Linked DNA regions of Homo sapiens: all the other regions are linked to region 2. The links are contacts of gene promoters, found by promoter capture Hi-C in blood cells and fetal thymus (Javierre and others, 2016). All regions are on one chromosome and are shown on one strand. The core of a region is centred on a gene start or on the middle of the fragment in contact, and the rest is flanking DNA. Distances in the headings are between cores, read along the strand shown.

Region 1 (2,700 bases), core at 34-2,533, 220 kb before region 2:
CAGTCACCCTATATTGTTCCCTGTTCCTTGGACCATGTGCTTTTTTGTGTCTGTTCTTTTTTTTATGCCACACCCTATGTCTGAAATGCCCTCTCTCTAACTGGTGCCTATTTTTCAAATGTTAGTTCAAAGGTCAGTCCGTTCCCTGAAACCATTCCTTATAAGCTAATAAGACTTTGATTTCTCCCTCCTCTGAACTCCTACAACACTTTTTCCTACAAGTAGTTATGTATCTTGTGGAGGAGATAAGATTTTATGTGCCTAAAATGCTAATATATTCCAATCATCTTTTTGTTTTTATCTTCCACAGAGCTAGGCACGGTATGTTACATGTAATAGGTAATCAGAAAATATATGTAAAATGAATGATTAAACTCTATAACCAAACCAAAGCAAAAATCTAACATAATAATTAATAATATTTGCTCCACTGCTATACATTTGGAATTGAAAGCTAACTTTCTTCAGGGCAACCTCATAAGTTTGTCCGTTGCATTTCTGTCATTAGGCATATGGTACCGTGGTGGAGTAGCATCACTGATTGTTGTCAGTTTTAGTTCAATAACCAAAGCACACTTACTTTTTATCCTAAAATTTTTGAGTTACTTTATTTGTGAGCATCATTTGCTAAGATAAAGTGACTTACAGGATAACATTCTTTGAGGAATAAGATATAAAAATTTGCTGTTTGTAGAAATTTTAACTGCACACTGTATTTTGGGATGTTCATTAGTCCTCTGATTAAGTTTTCTTTACAATATCTAGAGAGGGATGGATATTAAAGTAGGGAAACCGCATCCTAAGGGTATAGTTCCTTAGGTGCTGATGTTTTGGGAGAGCAACTTTTAAACTTCTGCTTTTCAAAGCATATTAGAAAAAGACAAGGTGAAGCTTCGATTTTGGTTTACTTATAAAATTGTTTTTACTGATCTTGAGTAACTTATACTATAATATTGTAATATATTCATATTTTTGAGTGCATGAATGTTTGCTAAGTATGAACTCTTTCTTCAACTACTCTGACTGTAGTGACTTAATAACTGTGCATGTACATGTGTGCTTGCCTGCTACGTTTGCCATAACACCACAGATTGGGTGGCTTATACAACAGAAATGTATTTTCTCACAGTTCTGGAACCCATGAAGTCCAAGATGAAGGTGTCAGTAGAGTTGATTTCTTCTGAGGTCTCTCTCCTTGGCATGTAGATGGCCATCTTATACCTCTGTCTTCACACTGTCTTTTCCACTGTTTGTGTCTGTGTCCTGATATCCTCTTCTTAGAAGTATACTGGTCATATTGGATTAAGGCCCACCTTAATGACCTCATTGAACTTTAATTACCTCTTTAAGGGCCCTGTTTCCAAATATAGTCACATTCTGAAGTATTAGAGGTTAGGACTTCAACATATAAATTTGTGGGGGTGGGGAGTACACAGTTCAGACCATAACAATGTGTGTATGTGTTTGTATGTGTGTGTATGTATATGCAAATACATAGAAAATTGGAAAGATATACTCCAGTCTGGTAAAAGTGGTTACCTCGGGGGTTGGGGGGGGGTTTGGGATGCTAAAAAACAAACAAAAAAAATTTAATTTGCTATTATGGATACACAGACATAGTTTGATATACTGTACTTGTTTTTACAATGAGAAAAATATTTCATGTTTAAGCTTTTCAATTGATGAACTGACCTTTTTGAGTAGGTTATATTATGTTCATTTATTTGAAGTCCAATTTGTTTTGTCTGCTAGTAGTAATGCATTTTATCATCTCTGTAACTTTTATTTTATTTGTTTATTTTTTATTTTTTATTTTTTTGCGATGGAGTTGTGCTCTGTCACCCAGGTTGGAATGCAGTGGCACAATCTTGGCTCACTGCCACCTCTGCCTCCCAGGTTCAAGCGATTCTCCTGCCTCAGCCTCCCAAGTAGCTGGGATTACAGGCGCACACCACCACACCTGGCTAATTTTTGTATTTTTAGTAGAGATAGGGTTTCGCCATGTTGGCCAGGCTAGTCTCGAACTCCTGACCTCAGGTGATCCGCCCACCTCGGCCTTCCAAAGTGCTGGGATTACAGGCCTGAGCCACCACGCCTGGCCTTGTAACTTTTATTTTAAGTTCAGGAGTACATGTGCAGGTTTGTTACATAGGTAAACTTATGTCATGGAGGTTTGTTGTACAAATTATTTTATCACCCAGGTATTAAGCCTAGTAGCCATTAGTTATTTTTTCTGATCCTCTCCCTTCTTCCACCTTCCACCCTCTGATAGGCCCCAGTGTGTGTTGTTTCCTTGTATGTGTCTATGTGTTCTCATCATTTAGCTCCTACTTGTAAGTGAGAACATGTAGTACTTAGTTTTCTGTTCCTGTGTTAATTTGCTAAGGATAATGGCCTCCAGCTCCAGCCATGTCACTGCAAAGGACGTGATTTTGTTCTTTTTTATGGCTGCATAGTATTCCATGATATATTTGTACCACATTTTCTTTATCTAGTCTGTCATTGATAGGCATTTAGGTTGATTCCATGTGTTTGCTATTGTGAATGGTACTGCAATGAACATACGCATGCATGTGTCTTTATAATAGAATGATTTATATTCCTTGGGGTACATACCCAGTAATAGGATTGCTGGGTCAAATGGTAATTCTGTTTTTCATTCTTTGAGGAATTGCCACACTGCTCTCCACAGTAGTTGAA
Region 2 (2,700 bases), core at 51-2,550:
CCAGACCTTATTGTCAATGGGATATCTGGAACATTTATCTCCTGTACTTTGCCAGGGAAAAGAAAATATACCCCCGCCTCTGCACTGTTTCTGGGGAGGGATTGTGTGACAGGTGATGGTGAGAAGTTGCACACATCAGATCTCAAAGCCTGAGCCCTCGTAGCAAAATGACGCTGTAGCTGTGGCAGCAAAGAAATCTGAAATGAGGCCCTGCCTGACTGGAGAAGCTGTGCTTTGGCAATGATGTTGGAGCAAGTGCACACAAAGTAGCTACTTTTACCCCTTCTGTTCTAGTACCAACCTTTTCATCTCTTGCCTTGGCTCCTAGTGGTGACAAATCTCCCGAGGCTCAGGCCTCAACCTTGCACCCAGGACTCCAGAAGTACTAAATGGTCCCTCCTGAGTTGCTCTCCAATCGTTTTGCTGTTTCCTGTTGAGTTCCCAGGACGTCTGAAGGAAAATGACCACCTAAGAGATTTTTCAATGACAGCCATCAGGCAGATCTGTTTTCCTTCCTGGCCATATTCAGCTTCCCTTCTTTCCTTTATTCCCCAAACGTCACTCCCCAATTGTCTGCCTTCATCCAACCCTTCAAAAAGGACCCACCTTCCTGGGGGCCCAGGCCCTTAAGTTAAGAGTAGGTAAAGGTTGAATGGTTAGATGCTTGGTGGATGAAACCATTCAAATATTCTTCCCCAAACTTCAGAGTGCCCCTCTCCGCACACACAACTGCCCTAAAAGGCATGGGAGAGTGGTGTCCGGTTGCGTGTCTGCCAGGGGAAGAACGCACCACTGGCGTAGTGGACTGGAAGGGCAGCAGGAACGCGAGTGGGGGGCGGGGTGGGAATGGGGAAGGGGGGTGCGCGCCCTTTATGACAGGTGGCCGCGCAGTGCGCGCTCCCGGGCGCCCGAGGGGAGGGAAGGACAGACGGACAGAGTTGGGGGGGCACATAAGGAAGGGACCATAGAGAGGGTAAGGAGAGCGGGAGGGAAAGGGAGAGCTGTGGTGGGGAAGAAGGGTAGAGGGGGGAAGGCGTCCAGCAAGAACAGCCGTGTTGGAGGAAACAATGGCAGGGGCAACAGCGATGGTGGCAGCAGAGGCGGCCCCACTCTGGGCACCTTTCTGAATGGGCAGAGACAGCTCCGGGAGAAGAGGGGACCAGGCAGTGCCTGCAGAGGCTCTGAGAAAAGCGGCAGAGGGAGGAGAAGAGGGAGGAGGAAGAGAAGGAGGAGGAGGAGTAGGAGGAGGAGGAGGAAGGGGGAGGAGGGGGGACGAGGCAGGGGAAGAACCTGGGAAGGAAAACCAGTAGCATCAGCAGCAGCAGCAGCAGCCGCCGCCGCCACCACCGCCGCCACAGCAGTAGCATTAGCGGCAGTAGCAGCATTTAGCAATAGCTTTAACAGCTATAGCGACAGTAGCAGCCGCCCTCCTCTCTCCCTCTCGCGGACGGCCGCAGCCACCGCACAGAGCGGGCTCCAGGCGCCGAGCGCGCAGCCCGCTCGCTAGGTAGCTCCAGCCGGGGCGAGCGACAGTGTAAGCGAAGCACGGACCCTTGGAGCAGCCGGGCAGCCGCGGAGGCTCTGAGTTTCAGGGCCAGAGCCCGACAGCTCTGACTCCATCTAGCGCGGCGGCGGCGGAGCCTGAGGGAGCGAGCGAGGAGAGAGGCGCGTCCACCTGGCGGGCCCAGCGTATGGAGCTGAGGCAGAGGCGGCGGCGGCGGCGGCAGCAGTAGCAGCGGCGGTGGCGGCTAAGGCAGCTCGAACAGCTGCGGCGACGGCGACAGCCCAGCCTTGACTGCGACCGCGCTAGCTACAGCGCCTGCTGCCTGAGCCCGCCAGCGACGTGCGCCTCGGGAGTCGGCCTGTGAGGTGAGTAGGAGCGCTGCCATACAGCTTCCTGGCCTTCTCGCCGGCTCCCCGGCTGGCTCGGGGTGGCGGCCGCAGGGGGTGGAATGAACTGGGGTAAGTCGAGCTAGACGAGAAGGAAGGGAAAACGGAACGGAGGACGTCTGTATGCGAATGTGTGTGTCTGTGTATGAGGGAGCGAGGCCGCTAGGGCGAGAGATCCCGGCTCGCCCTGACAGGCACTGCAATCTAGGAAAGGCCTCTGTGCTTGCGCCGTAGGAAGGGGGTTGCGGGGGGAGGGGAAGCGAGCGGACCGGAGCCGCCGCGCTTACACGCACGCAGCTCGGCAGAGTGCCGCCTCCTTTCGGACTGGTGCAGGGTAGAGCCTGGCCAGGGAATGGGGCATGGGCATGGCACGCTTCGGCGAGAGCGGGAAAACCCACGCGGCGGCCGAGGCCGGGCGCTCGGACCAAAGCCGCAAAGGTGCGAAGCCGGGCGGCCGTGGCGACCACAGAGCGCCCCCAGGACACGCGCCACTCGGCCGAGGCTGCGGACAGGTTTAAGTTGGAGGCCAGACCGAGCCTCGCCCAGCTCATCTCCTTTGCGGAAATTGGCTTGTGGCCCCTTCGCGCTCTCGGTGGCGGTCGAATTGACGCTTTTCTGTGTGGCTTCTGGCGCTTCTCTCTGCCGCGCCCCGCAGCACACGTCGGCTCGCGTCTTGTACACCCTGTAGGGCGGGAAGGCCGTGAGCCGGCGCGGGGAGCGGAGTCCCGCTCCGGGAAAGTGTGGAAACCGCGCTGCTGAGTTGGCGCCGTTCCGCTGAGGAATTCAGCGATTTCAGCATGACTGCTTCTG
Region 3 (2,831 bases), core at 212-2,711, 170 kb before region 2:
GCTCTACCATGAGTTTAGACTTGGGACTCCAAAGTGTTTTAAATAAAAAACTGACAAATAGCCAAAATGTATATAAATTTTCTACTACAAAAATGGAAATATGGAAATTTTTTTTGAATTTTCTGTAGTGTTTTGGTAGCTTAATAAATAAATGTATAGTACATGTCCCTTCATGACCACTAAATTACTTTTTTAACAATATGAGAGTGGCTAAAATTGAAAGTAAGACATTTAAGAGAAATGAATAACTTTTTTAAAGTAATTGAAATAATTTTTCTCTAAAATATTTTGATTTTGAAAGATATTAGCCTTAGATTCAGAATAAAAGTTATATTTGTAATGTTTTCATGTATTTCTCAAATATATAAATTCTACGTTATTGAATTATGGTTATGTTTGAAATGACATGTTATTCACTGCTTTGTTTTCTCTCTTTCAATAGTTAAAAGATGTTGATACTCGGAAAATCATAAAAGCAATGCTTTCTTATGTGTGGCCCAAAGACAGGCCAGATCTACGAGCTAGAGTTGCCATTTCGCTGGGATTTTTGGGTGGTGCAAAGGTAAGAAATTATGCATTGTTTGGTTGCTCTAACTAAGAAATACTACATTTTCTAGTTATGAATCCTGGGCCTGGTGTAAATCACTTTTGGGGTAGCATGACCAACTTTTAGGACCCTCATTTAGTTTACATAATTATTTTATGCAGTCATTAGAAATTATATGGTAATGTCCTGTTTATCTCTGGATCAGACTTCTCACAGAATTAGTGGAATTCACTCCTTGAAACCGTTGTGAGATATAGGAGCATTGATTGTAACAAAGCATAAGCACCTTTGTAAAAGAAGCTTTTCGGAGCCTCTTTGGCTCCGAAATAATACATATTTTTGGTAAGCTTGGTTCCCAGATCCCAGTAAATTGAAAAGAGGATGAAGCCATTTTAGGAACACTGATAGCCATAAGTAATAAGCAACAGCTTAATATCAAGAGAAAAGCTAAAAAAACAAAACAAAACAAAAGCCACAAAACCTGACTGTTTTGGTACGTTCAGTATAGGAGCCCTCTGCATTTCAGCAGCCTTCTCAGTTTGTCATTGTACTATATAAGGCAAAGTTATAATGATGACCTCGAGTTTTCAAGAAAATAAAAACCTTGTTTCAAATTTACTCAGATTTTTTTTTCTTTTTTTTTTTTTTGATACAGAGTCTCACTCTGTTGCCCAGACTGGAGTACAGTGGCACAATCTTGGCTCACTGCAATCTCTGCCTCCCGGGTTCAAGCAATTCTCCTGCCTCAGCCTCCCGAGTAGCTGGGATTATAGGCGTGCGCCACCATGCCCAGCTAATTTTTGTATTTTTAGTAGAGATGGGGTTTCACCATGTTGACCAGGCTGGTCTCTAACTCCTGACCCCAGGTGATCCACCCGCCTCGACCTCCCAAAGTGCTGGGATTACAGGCATGAGCCACCGCACCCAGCCCCCAATTTACTCAGATTTTAAAGTCAGGGAAGTACACGTTTGTAGGTATACTATATTGTCATGATGAAGTCTCTGAAATCAGACTGCTTGGGCTTTGCCACCTTGTAACCTTAAGCAAGTTGTTTAGTCTGTGTGCCTCAGTTTGTCCATTTGTAAAATAGGGTTGCTATAAAGATTAAATAAGTTAACATACAAAGGACTTATAACAGTGCCTGGCAGGTAGTAAAATACAAGTATTAAAAATAAATAAATTTAGATTTCCAAAAATAATGGTAAAAAGTGTTTGCTTAAAATGAGCATAAAGGAGGTTTGGCTATGATTTGGCTACCACTCTTATATATAAGGATTAAGATTTTATTTTAGAACCCAGTTCTTACCACTTATTTTTTCCCTATATTATGTATACTCTCCTTTATTTGCTTATTCTTTTCCCTACCCTAAAAATATTAATTGAGAACTTATACACACTACTGTTCTTGGCATTGCAGAGTGTTCAGATATGAACAAAGCAAATTTCTTTCCTCAAACCATATGGGATAAGGCAAGCTTTATTTTATTGCCCTAATAAAAGGTAGGTCATAAATGATTTAAAGAAGTGCCAGTCGGGTGTTGTGGGGTTTCAGAAGAAAGTTAGGAACCACCATCATGGGGAGTTAGGAAAGGTTTCACAGAGGAGATGACATCTGAGATAGACCTTGATTGATGAGTAGGATTATTACAGGTGTAGGAATAACATGAAAAATGGCCTAGTTGTGAGAGAGCATAGTATGTGTACAGAAGTGAGTAGTCTATCCTGGTTCCAGCGAGGGGAAGATGTTTCAGAGAATTCGGAAATAAGCTTGGAAAGACAGATTAGAGCTCGTAAATGTGAAATATTGTGACTGTGAGACAGAAAAATGTATTTAATTATGTGGGAAGTGGGAACCTGTATTTTGAATAGATGAGTAATAAGGTTAGAACTGTGTTTTAGGAAATTAATCTGGCCATGTGTAAAAGATGAATTCAAGTGGTGATAGACCTAAAGTAGGGATACCATTTATTTCACACATTCATTCAGCAAATGTTTACTGACCAGTTATAAGGCTCATATGATAGTCTAGATAAGAAGTAATAGCAATTTGTACTGAAATAGTAGTAGAAATTGCAACATGGAGGAAAATACAAGAGATACTGTGCAGTAGGGGAGATAGAGTCAACAATACTTAGCAATGGGTCAACTGTTAGAAGTTAAAAAAAAAAAAAGTAGGATTCCAGGATGAGAGAATAAGAATGCCTTTAACAAAAGTGGGTATAATCAGAAGGTCTTGTTTGGGGAAAATGAAGATCTTGGTTTTGGACATGTTAAGTTTTAGGT

Evidence for each region. Contacts are between HindIII fragments. The CHiCAGO score rates a contact against its expected background, and 5 or more counts as called.
Region 1: a fragment that was not itself captured here is called in contact with the fragment with the promoter of NEXMIF in region 2 in 1 of 17 cell types (naive CD4 T cells); the score reaches 5.7 in naive CD4 T cells.
Region 3: a contact is called between a fragment that was not itself captured here and the fragment with the promoter of NEXMIF in region 2, in 1 of 17 cell types (naive CD4 T cells). The highest score is 5.6, in naive CD4 T cells.

Annotation. Positions count from the first base shown.
Region 1 is chrX:75,147,235-75,149,934 of GRCh38, reverse strand. All of the region lies in intron 1 of ABCB7 (ATP binding cassette subfamily B member 7), which reads left to right. Among named protein-coding and RNA genes, the nearest start is that of ABCB7, 7.7 kb to the left of the region's middle. The HindIII fragment of the contact is 780 bases long and covers 894-1,673 here.
Region 2 is chrX:74,924,052-74,926,751 of GRCh38, reverse strand. NEXMIF (neurite extension and migration factor) reads left to right here and starts at 1,300. Exons shown (of 4, transcript NM_001008537.3): 1 at 1,300-1,869. RefSeq lists a silencer at 2,262-2,421. The HindIII fragment of the contact is 8,655 bases long and covers 1-2,700 here.
Region 3 is chrX:75,096,673-75,099,503 of GRCh38, reverse strand. It overlaps ABCB7 (ATP binding cassette subfamily B member 7), which reads left to right. Exons shown (of 16, transcript NM_001271696.3): 4 at 443-562. Among named protein-coding and RNA genes, the nearest start is that of ABCB7, 58 kb to the left of the region's middle. The HindIII fragment of the contact is 1,129 bases long and covers 897-2,025 here.